2 separate regions of the Homo sapiens genome follow, and region 1 is linked to region 2. Evidence: promoter capture Hi-C in human tissues and cell types (Jung and others, 2019). All regions are on one chromosome and are shown on one strand. The core of a region is centred on a gene start or on the middle of the fragment in contact, and the rest is flanking DNA. Distances in the headings are between cores, read along the strand shown.

Region 1 (4,156 bases), core at 1,197-3,696, 600 kb after region 2:
TTACATATTTCATCTTTATTATTTTTTATTTTTATTTTATTTATTTATTTTTGAGACAGAGTCGTGCTCTGTCGCCCAGGCTGGAGTGCAGTGGCGAAATCTCGGCTCACTGCAGCTTCCACCTCCCACGTTCAAGCGATTCTCCTGCCTCAGCCTCCCGAGTAAGTGAGATTACAGGCGCGTGCCACCACTCCTGACTAATATTCATATTTATTAGCAGAGATGGGGTTTCACCATGTTAGCCAGGCTGGTCTCGAACTTCTGACCTCAAGTGATTCACCCACCTCGGCCCCACGAAGTGCTAGGATTACAGGCGTGAGCCACTATGCCCGGCCTTATTTTTATTTTTTTGAGACAGGGTCTCACTCTGTTACCCGGGCGGGATGGAATGCAGTAGTGCAATCTCAGCTCACTGCAGCCTCTAACTCCTGGGCTCAAGCAATCGTCCTGCCTCAGCCTTCAGAGTAACTGGGACTACTGGTGTGCACTACCACGCCTGGCTAATTTTTTATGTTATTTGTTGAGTCAGGGTTTCCCTGTGTTGCCCAGGCTGGTCTCGAACCCTTAGGCTAAGTGATCCTCCTGCCTCGTCCTCCCAAAGGGCTGGGATTACTGGCATAAGCCACAGCACCGGAGCCATTAGTTATTCGCTTTTTTTTTTTGAGACTGGGTCTCATTCCGTTGCCCAGGCTGGAGTGAAGGCATGCACCCACAGTGCTCTGCTAATTTTTTGTATTTTTGGTAGAGACGGTGTTTCGCCATGTTTCCCAGGCTGGTCTCGAACTCCTGAGCTCAAGCAATCCGCCCACCTCGGTCTCCCAAAGTGCTGGGATTACAGGAGTGAGCCACCACACCCAGCCCGTTATTAATTCTTTACTAGCATTTTGTGAACCAATGGTTATCATCCTGGTTCTACTAATGAAGAAACGATCTCAGAGGGATTCCATGAGTTTCCAGGGCCATACTGCTAGTAAGGAGTGGGGAATAAAGATTTAAACCTGGGGCAGACAGAGCCTTTATTCATACCACTGATAGGCATCCTTCCTTCACAGTATCCTAATTTGCTTGCTAAACCAGGAATCCACCTGAGCTCTTGTTTTCTTCTCAAGTTCAATATTCTGCATAATCTCCCTACATTATTTTCACGTGACATTTGTTCAACGTACAAAGCATAGTGCTAGGCAATTGGGAGAGCGTACATAAATAAGTCATAGGCCATGCTTTGAATGGAGCTTACAGTCTAGTAAAGCATATAAATTCACAATGAATCATAACAGAATGATACAAGCATGTATGTGAAAGGCACTGAACTGAAAATTGCTGATGGAACAAGCCAGCACCCACCCCATTAGCCTCCACATTTTTTTTTTTTTTTTTTTTTTGAGACGGAGTCTCGCTCTGTCACCCAGGCTGGAGGGCAGTGGCGCCATCTCGGCTCACTGCAAGCTCCGCCTCCCGGGCTCACGCCATTCTCCTGCCTCAGCCTCCCGGGTAGCTGGGACTACAGGCGCCCGCCACCACGCCCAGCTAATTTTTTGTATTTTTAGTAGAGACGGGGTTTCACCATGTTAGCCAGGATGGTCTTGATCTCCTGACCTCGTGATCCACCCGTCTCAGCCTCCCAAAGTGCTGGGATTACAGGCGTGAGCCACTGTGCCCAGCCCTTTTTTTTTTTTTTTTTAGACGGAGTCTTGCTCTGTTGCCCAGGCTAGAGTGCAGTGGTGCAAACTCGGCTCACTGCAACCTTGGCCTCCCGGGTTCAAGTGATTCTCCTGCCTCAGCCTCCCGAGTAGCTGAGATTACAGGCACCCGCCACTTTGCTCGGCTAATTTTTGTATTTTTAGTAGAGACGGGATTTCACCATCTTGGCCAGGCTGGTCTCGAACTCCTGACCTCATGATCCAACCACCTCTGCCTCCCAAAGTGCTGGGATTACAGGCATGAGCCACCACGCCCGCCCTAGCCCCTACTTCTATGTATGTGTTATACTGCAGAGTTTCACCAGCTCAATGCCACCCCCAAGGGTCCTGCGAGCAGGAGAATACACCATTTGCCATGTCTCTTAGCTAGTGACATGCACATCTATCTCTCTAACCCTTTAATCAATATTGTAAAGCATATACTATGGGCAAAACACTAACCTCAAAGCTTTCAAGGAATAAAGACAAACAATGTGGCAGGAAAAGTCACAAAATTAGAAGGCAATGAGGCCGGGAGCAGTGGCTCACACCTGTAATCCCAGCAGTTTGGGAGGCCGAGGTGGGTGGATCACGTGAGGCCAGGAGTTCAAGACCAGCCTGGCCAACATGGCAAAACCCTGTCTCTACTAAAAATACAAAAATTAGCCGGGCTTGGTGGCACATGCCTATAGTCCCTGCTACTTGGGAGGCTGAGGCATGAGAATTGTTTTCTGTTTTGTTTTGTTTTGTTTTGTTTTGAGACGGAGTTTTGCTCTTGTTCCCCAGGCTGAGTGCAATGGAGCAATCTCGGCTCACCACAACCTCCGCCTCCCGGATTCAAACGATTCTCCTGCCTCAGCCTCCCGAGTAGCTGGGATTACAGGCATGCGCCACTACACCCAGCTAATTTTGTATTTTTAGTAGAGATGGGGTTTCTTCATGTTGGTCAGGCTGGTCTTGAACTCCTGACCTCAGCTGATCTGTCCGCCTCGACCTCCCAAAGTGCTGGGATTACAGACATGAGCCACCAGGCCCAGCCGAAGAGAATTGTTTGAAACTGGAAGGCGGAGGTTGCAGTGATCCAAGATGGTGCCACTGCACTCCAGCCTGGGTGACAGAGTAAGACTAAGTCTCAAAAAAAAAAAAAAAAAAAAAGGCTGGGCTTGGTGGCTCACGCCTGTAATCCCAGCACTTTGGGAGGCCGAGGCGGGCAGATCACTAGGTCAGGAGATCAAGACCATCCTGGCTAACACGGTGAAACCCCGTCTCTACTAAAAATATAAAAAATTAGCCAGGCATGGTGGTGGGCTTCTGTAGTCCCAGCTACTCAGGAGGCTGAGGCAGGAGAATGGCGTGAACCCGGGAGGCGGAGCTTTCGACCGAGCGAGACTCGTCTCAAAAAAAAAAAAAAAAAAGAGGAAGGAGAAGAAAGAAGAAGGAGGAGGAGGATGAGGAGGCAGCAGTGAGATATTCAGAGGAAGGAGATGTTTGAACAGAGGTGGTGGAAAAAAAACTACAGTTACAGGCTAGGTGTGGTGGCTCACACCTATAATCCCAGCACTTTGGGAGGCCGAGGTGGGGGGATTGCTTGAGCCCAGGAGTTCAAGACCAGCCTGGCCACCATGGCAAAACCCTTTCTCTACAAAAAATACAAAAATTAACTAGGCATGGTGTCGGGCACTTATAGTCCCAGCTACTTGGGAAGCTGAGGTGGGGGGATCGATTGAGACTTGGGAGGTCAAGGCTACAGTAGCCAAGATTGCACCACTGCACTCCAGCCTGGGCGAAAGAATGAGATCCTGTCTCAAAAAACAAAAACAACAACAACAACAAAAAAAAAAGGCGGGAGCTCTAGCCTCCTAATTGTGGCTGGGCGTGTGGGCATGGTGGCTCATGCCTGTAGTCCCAGCCCTTTGGGAGGCTAAGGCGAGAGGATGACTTGAGCCCAAGAGTTCAAGGCTGCAGTTAACTATGATTATTACACCACTGCGCTCCAGCGTGGTCAACAGATTGAGACTCTGTGTTTAAATGAATAGAACAAAAACAAACAAACAAACAAAAAACCTGGGCTGCATGAATCTGTTAAGAAAAGTCAGGTCAGCTGGGCGTGGTGGCTCACACCTGTAATCCATCCCAGCACTTCAGGAGGCTGAGGCGGGTGGATTGCCTGAGGTCAGGAGTTCAAGACCAGCCTGACCCACATGGTGAAACCCTGTCTCTACTAAATACAAAAAATTAGCCGAGAGTGGTGGTGCATGCCTGTAATCCCAGCTACTTAGGAGGCTGAGGCAGGAGAATCGCTTGAACCGGGGAGGCTGAGGTTGCAGTGAGCCCAGATTGCACCATTGCACTCCAGCCTGGGCAACAAGAGTGAAACTCCATCTCAAAAAAGAAAAGAAAAGTCAGGCCAGGCACGATGGTTCGTGCCTATAATCCCAGCACTTTGGGAGGCTGAGGAGGGCAAATCACCTGAGGTC
Region 2 (4,345 bases), core at 367-2,866:
AGGAATGGGCCCCCTCTGGGGGCTGCACGCAAACCGGGCCCGGGCTTGGGTGGCAGGGAGTGCCCACCTTGGCCCTGAGGATGCTACAGTGCAGAGTGCAGGAGGCCCGGTCGTAGAGAAGGTCAAACTCCAGCGTGCCTAGGGCGGCTGGAGAGAGAGGAAAGGCAGCATGGGTCGGTATGGAGACAGGTGTGTGCGAGAGGCCAGCAGGTGGGCACTGGCTCTGTGTGTCTCTCTCTCTTGCCAGCCCGCGAGTGTGAGTGCAAGAGGCTGAGTGGGCCCATGCGTGTGTGCGTCTGGGTCCCTGGCTCGGCCGCAACTGGGGCTGTGTGGGTGGTGGAGTGTCTCAGCAGAAATACTGAATATTGAGCCTTGCTGAAGCTGTAATCTCCACGCTGACTGCAGCTGTGGTGGCCGTCCCTGCCACCCCCCCACTGCCCTCCTCCCCTACCTACATGCACAGCCAGCAGGGCCCATCCCCCTCTCCCCCCACCACGGCAAGCCTGGAGACCCCCACCAGCACATGGGGCCTCCAAGCCCCCAGACTCACTGGCATCATCCGAGTCATAGCTGTCCACCTCCGCACCATCCTCAGGCGTGGTGGCCCCAAGGAGGGCTGCAGGGGGGGCCAGAGCCAGGGGGACCAGATGGGCGGGGGCCTCCCCGCCGCCCCCGCCGCCCCCTTCAGGTCCTGGTCCCCGGGGGAAGTAGTCAGAGATCTGGCGGATGGGCCGGATGGGCCCGGGGCACACGTTGATGGCCATGTGCTCCTGGATGTTGATGGTCATGCGATCGCCCCTGCGGCCCCTCATGCAGCACCCCTGGCTAGGAGAGGGCGTGTGAGCCAGTGAGCCCATCATACCTAGCCATCCTGGCTGAGGGCCAGGCGACGGCCTCCTCGGTCTGTGGGGCCCTCACTGGCCTCCCTTCCTAGGTGTCGAGGGAGAGGGTGGTGTGTGCCAGCCGGTGGCAGGTGGGAGGCCTGGGCCCTGCAGACCCCAAGCTGACTCCACAGGGGCTGGGCTGCCAACCCACTCCTTGCAGAAGTCGAGGTTGCACCACCCCGTCCTCACCCACCCACTTCTAGGTTGTCCCTGTATCATCTTGCCAGCTCCTTCCTCTCCTCCGGGGCTCCCCTCTGCTCCTGAGCCTGCCTGTCCCCCAAGGGGCCCTGCAGGGCCCCGCCTCTGTTTCTCGGAGGCTCTGTCCTCCTCTGCACCAGGCGCTGGTCTAGTCAGGGTGTCACCCACCCCTCTAGGCTCCAACTGCCCACTGTCCCCTCATTCAGCCCCAGGACCTGTCTGCCTGCCTGGTTCCCCCGCTCGCTCACCACAGCCCACGGTGGAGACCCCAGCCTCAGATGCCACCTCTGGCTCCTCAGGGGAGCCAGAAATTGCAGCCGCAGGAGAGCCGAACACCCCCGTAGCGCACACAGGCTGGCACGCTTCCCCGCACCCTCACGCCCCCGGCCTGCCCAGCCCCCTGCACCTGCCTCTGCCTCCAACAGGTGCCCAGGCACTGGGGGGACGGCGGGCGCAGGCTGGGCGGCGGCGGCCGGCGAGGAGAGCGCGGAGTCGAGCTGTGCGAGCCGAGAGGGAGGGAGCGCCGAGAAAGTGCGGGGAGGAGGGGGTGAGCGAGGTGGAGGCGAGGATGCAGCCGGCGCGGCGGCGGGGGACGGGGAGGGGCGCTGGGGCTGGGGAGGGGGCGGGATCTCGGACTCCCACCCGGGGCCCGCTCGGGAGCGCACGCGAGCGCGCACACACACGTGTGCTCGCGCGCGCACACTCACGCAGGGGCACGCGGACCGGCACACACTCGTGTGCACACATCCAACCGGGCACCCCCGCGCGCACACGCCCGTGCCCACGTGTGCACGCTCACACCCTTGCACACACCCAGGCGCGCGCTGGCACACTTACCCGGAGAACTTCGCACACACACGCACTCGCAAACACGCGGGCTCCCTGCGCCACCAGGAAGCAGCCGCCAGAATCGCCGGGTGTTCCCCAACTACTCCTGGGAGACCTGGCCCCCCGCCCCCGCCCGCGCGCGCGGCCACGGCGCCTCCCTCCCTCCCGGGTCCCCAAGGCCGGACCACCGGCCTCGTTGTCATGGCGACGCCGGCTCATCTCCCCCCACCCCCGCGCGTCTTCACGCCCCTCCCCCGCAGGGAGCTGGGGCCTCCCTCCTCCCTTCCCCACGTCCGTAGGGACCCACAGGTTGACAGGAGCAGGGGGTCGCCTGCTGTCACCGGCCGGGGATCTCGGGGTCTCCCGAGCCAGGCTGGGGAGCCTCACGATCTGAGGGAGGAGGCAGAGGTCTGATGCTGCGGCTTCCCCCACGCCCCCTCCCTTTGGCCGTTCAGGCCTCTCTCCTTGTGGCCCAACCCAACTCCCAGGGGCCCATGTCCCCTTACCAGGGATGGTATCTCCTTTGGGAACCACCCTCCCCCCTGCCATCCCCAGTTCTGCCCCGCAGGTGGGAAGGGGCGTCGGGGCTTGGCTCTGAAGGTCTCAGAGCCCTGCGGTAGTTCCCCATGGGCTGCCATTTCTCACCCAAACCTTGCCACCCCCAAGCCGCCCCCCTGCCCGGCCCTGCGCCTGCCACGGAGTGTCAGTCCACCCCTGGCCTTCGGTCTTCACTCACCTGTGCCCCAAACTTACCATCCCGAAGACACGAAGGGGCTTATCACCCTCGCTGCCCACCACTGACTCACCCAACCGTTTCCTGCAGTTCCTGGGACACACCTAGACGGCTCAGGCCTAGGGATCTTGGCTCACATGCGCTCCTCTACCTGGGAACCGCGCTTCCTTAGGAAGTCACCGTGGGTCCCCTCTTCCTAGGAGCCTTCCTGGGGCATCCCGCACTGCCCCTCAGCTCCAGCGCCGTCAGGACTCGGCTCAGCACCGCTTCGCCAGTGCCTCCCCCACCAGCAGGGAGTTCCACTGGAGCGGCTGATTCATCTGGGAGTCCCTAATGTCCCAAACTGGGCCTGGCACGAAGTCGGCATCTCTAAGTGCTGTTATTTAAAACAGCAATCTGGTTGCACGACAACTGAACATACCTAACACCACCTAATCTTACCCTTAAAAATGGTGAAGATGGTACATTTCGATATGCGTATTTCACGGCAATTTTTTTTTTTTTAAATAAGAGAAATGGGGCCGAGAGTGGTGGCGGGTGCCTGTAATCCTAGCTACTCCAGGGACTGCGGCGAGAGGATCGCTTGAGTGAAGCCAGCCTGGGCAACACAGTGAGACACAGTCTCTTAAAAAAAAAAAAAAAAAAAAGTAAGAGAAATGTAAAGTCAACAACACTGAGGGGGCGGGGCGCAGTGGCTCACGCCTGTAATCCCAGCGCTTTGGGAGGCCGAGGTGGGTGGATCACCTGAGGTCAGGAGTTTGAGACTAGCCTGGCCAACATGGTGAAACCCCATCTCTGCTAAAAATGCCGGGCGTGGTGGTATGTGTCTTGGGAGGCTGAGGCAGGAGGATCGCTTGAACCCGGGAGGCGGAGGTTGCAGTGAGCTGAGATCGTGCCACTGCACTCCAGCCTGGGCTGTAAGAGCAAAACTCAGTCTCAAAACAAACAAACAAACAAACAAACAAAAAACCCTGAGATATCACTTATTACCCATAAAATGGGCAAAGCCAAAGTGTCTGGGCTGGGGGGAAGCTGAGACGGACTGATCCCTTGAGCTCAGAAGTTCAAGACCAGCCTGGGCAACATGGTGAGGCCCTGTCTCTACAAAAAAAAAAAAAAAAAAAAAAAAAAAATCCAGGCATAGTGGTGTGTGCCTGTGGTCCCAGCTACTCAAGAGGCTGAGGTGGGAGGATCTCTCTTCTTTTTTTTTCTTTTCTTTTTTTTTTTTTTGAGATGGAGTCTCGCTCTGTCGCCCAGGCTGGAGTGCAGTGGCGTGATCTCGGCTCACTGCAAGCTCCACCTCCCAGGTTCATGCCATTCTCCTGCCTCAGCCTCCCGGGTAGCTGGGACTACAGGTGCCCGCCTCCACGCCTGACTAATTTTTTTGTATTTTTAATAGAGATGGGGTTTCACCTTCTTAGCCAAGATGGTCTCGATCTCCTGACCTCGTGATGGTGGGAGGATCTCTTGAGCCCAGAAGGTCAAGGCTGCAGTAAGCTATAATCACTCCACTGCACTCCAGCCTGGGTAACAGAGTGAGACCCTGTCTCAAAAAAAAAAAAAAAAAAAAAAAATCCTTAGACCCAGAAATTCCACTTTTAGGATTTTATCTTACAGATATGCCAACCCATAAGCCAAATAATAGAAGTTCAAATTCTTTTTTTCTTTTTTTTTTTTTGAGACAGACTTTCACTCTTGTTGC

Evidence for each region. The method cuts DNA at HindIII sites, captures the fragments that hold promoters and counts their contacts. A contact is called where the count stands out against the background at its distance.
Region 1: a fragment that was not itself captured here is called in contact with the fragment with the promoter of DOC2A in region 2 in 3 of the 25 tissues and cell types used here (dorsolateral prefrontal cortex, lymphoblastoid cells and spleen).

The regions. Positions count from the first base shown.
Region 1 is chr16:30,610,841-30,614,996 of GRCh38, forward strand. The region is part of intron 1 of LOC124903678 (a long non-coding RNA gene); the gene reads left to right. Among named protein-coding and RNA genes, the nearest start is that of ZNF689, 2.5 kb to the left of the region's middle. RefSeq lists an enhancer at 1-545. The HindIII fragment of the contact is 7,596 bases long and covers 1-4,156 here.
Region 2 is chr16:30,009,411-30,013,755 of GRCh38, forward strand. It overlaps DOC2A (double C2 domain alpha), which reads right to left and starts at 1,617. Exons shown (of 11, transcript NM_003586.3): 1 at 1,493-1,617; 2 at 551-825; 3 at 68-147. The coding sequence starts at 812. RefSeq lists a silencer at 1,524-1,583. The HindIII fragment of the contact is 30,604 bases long and covers 1,457-4,345 here.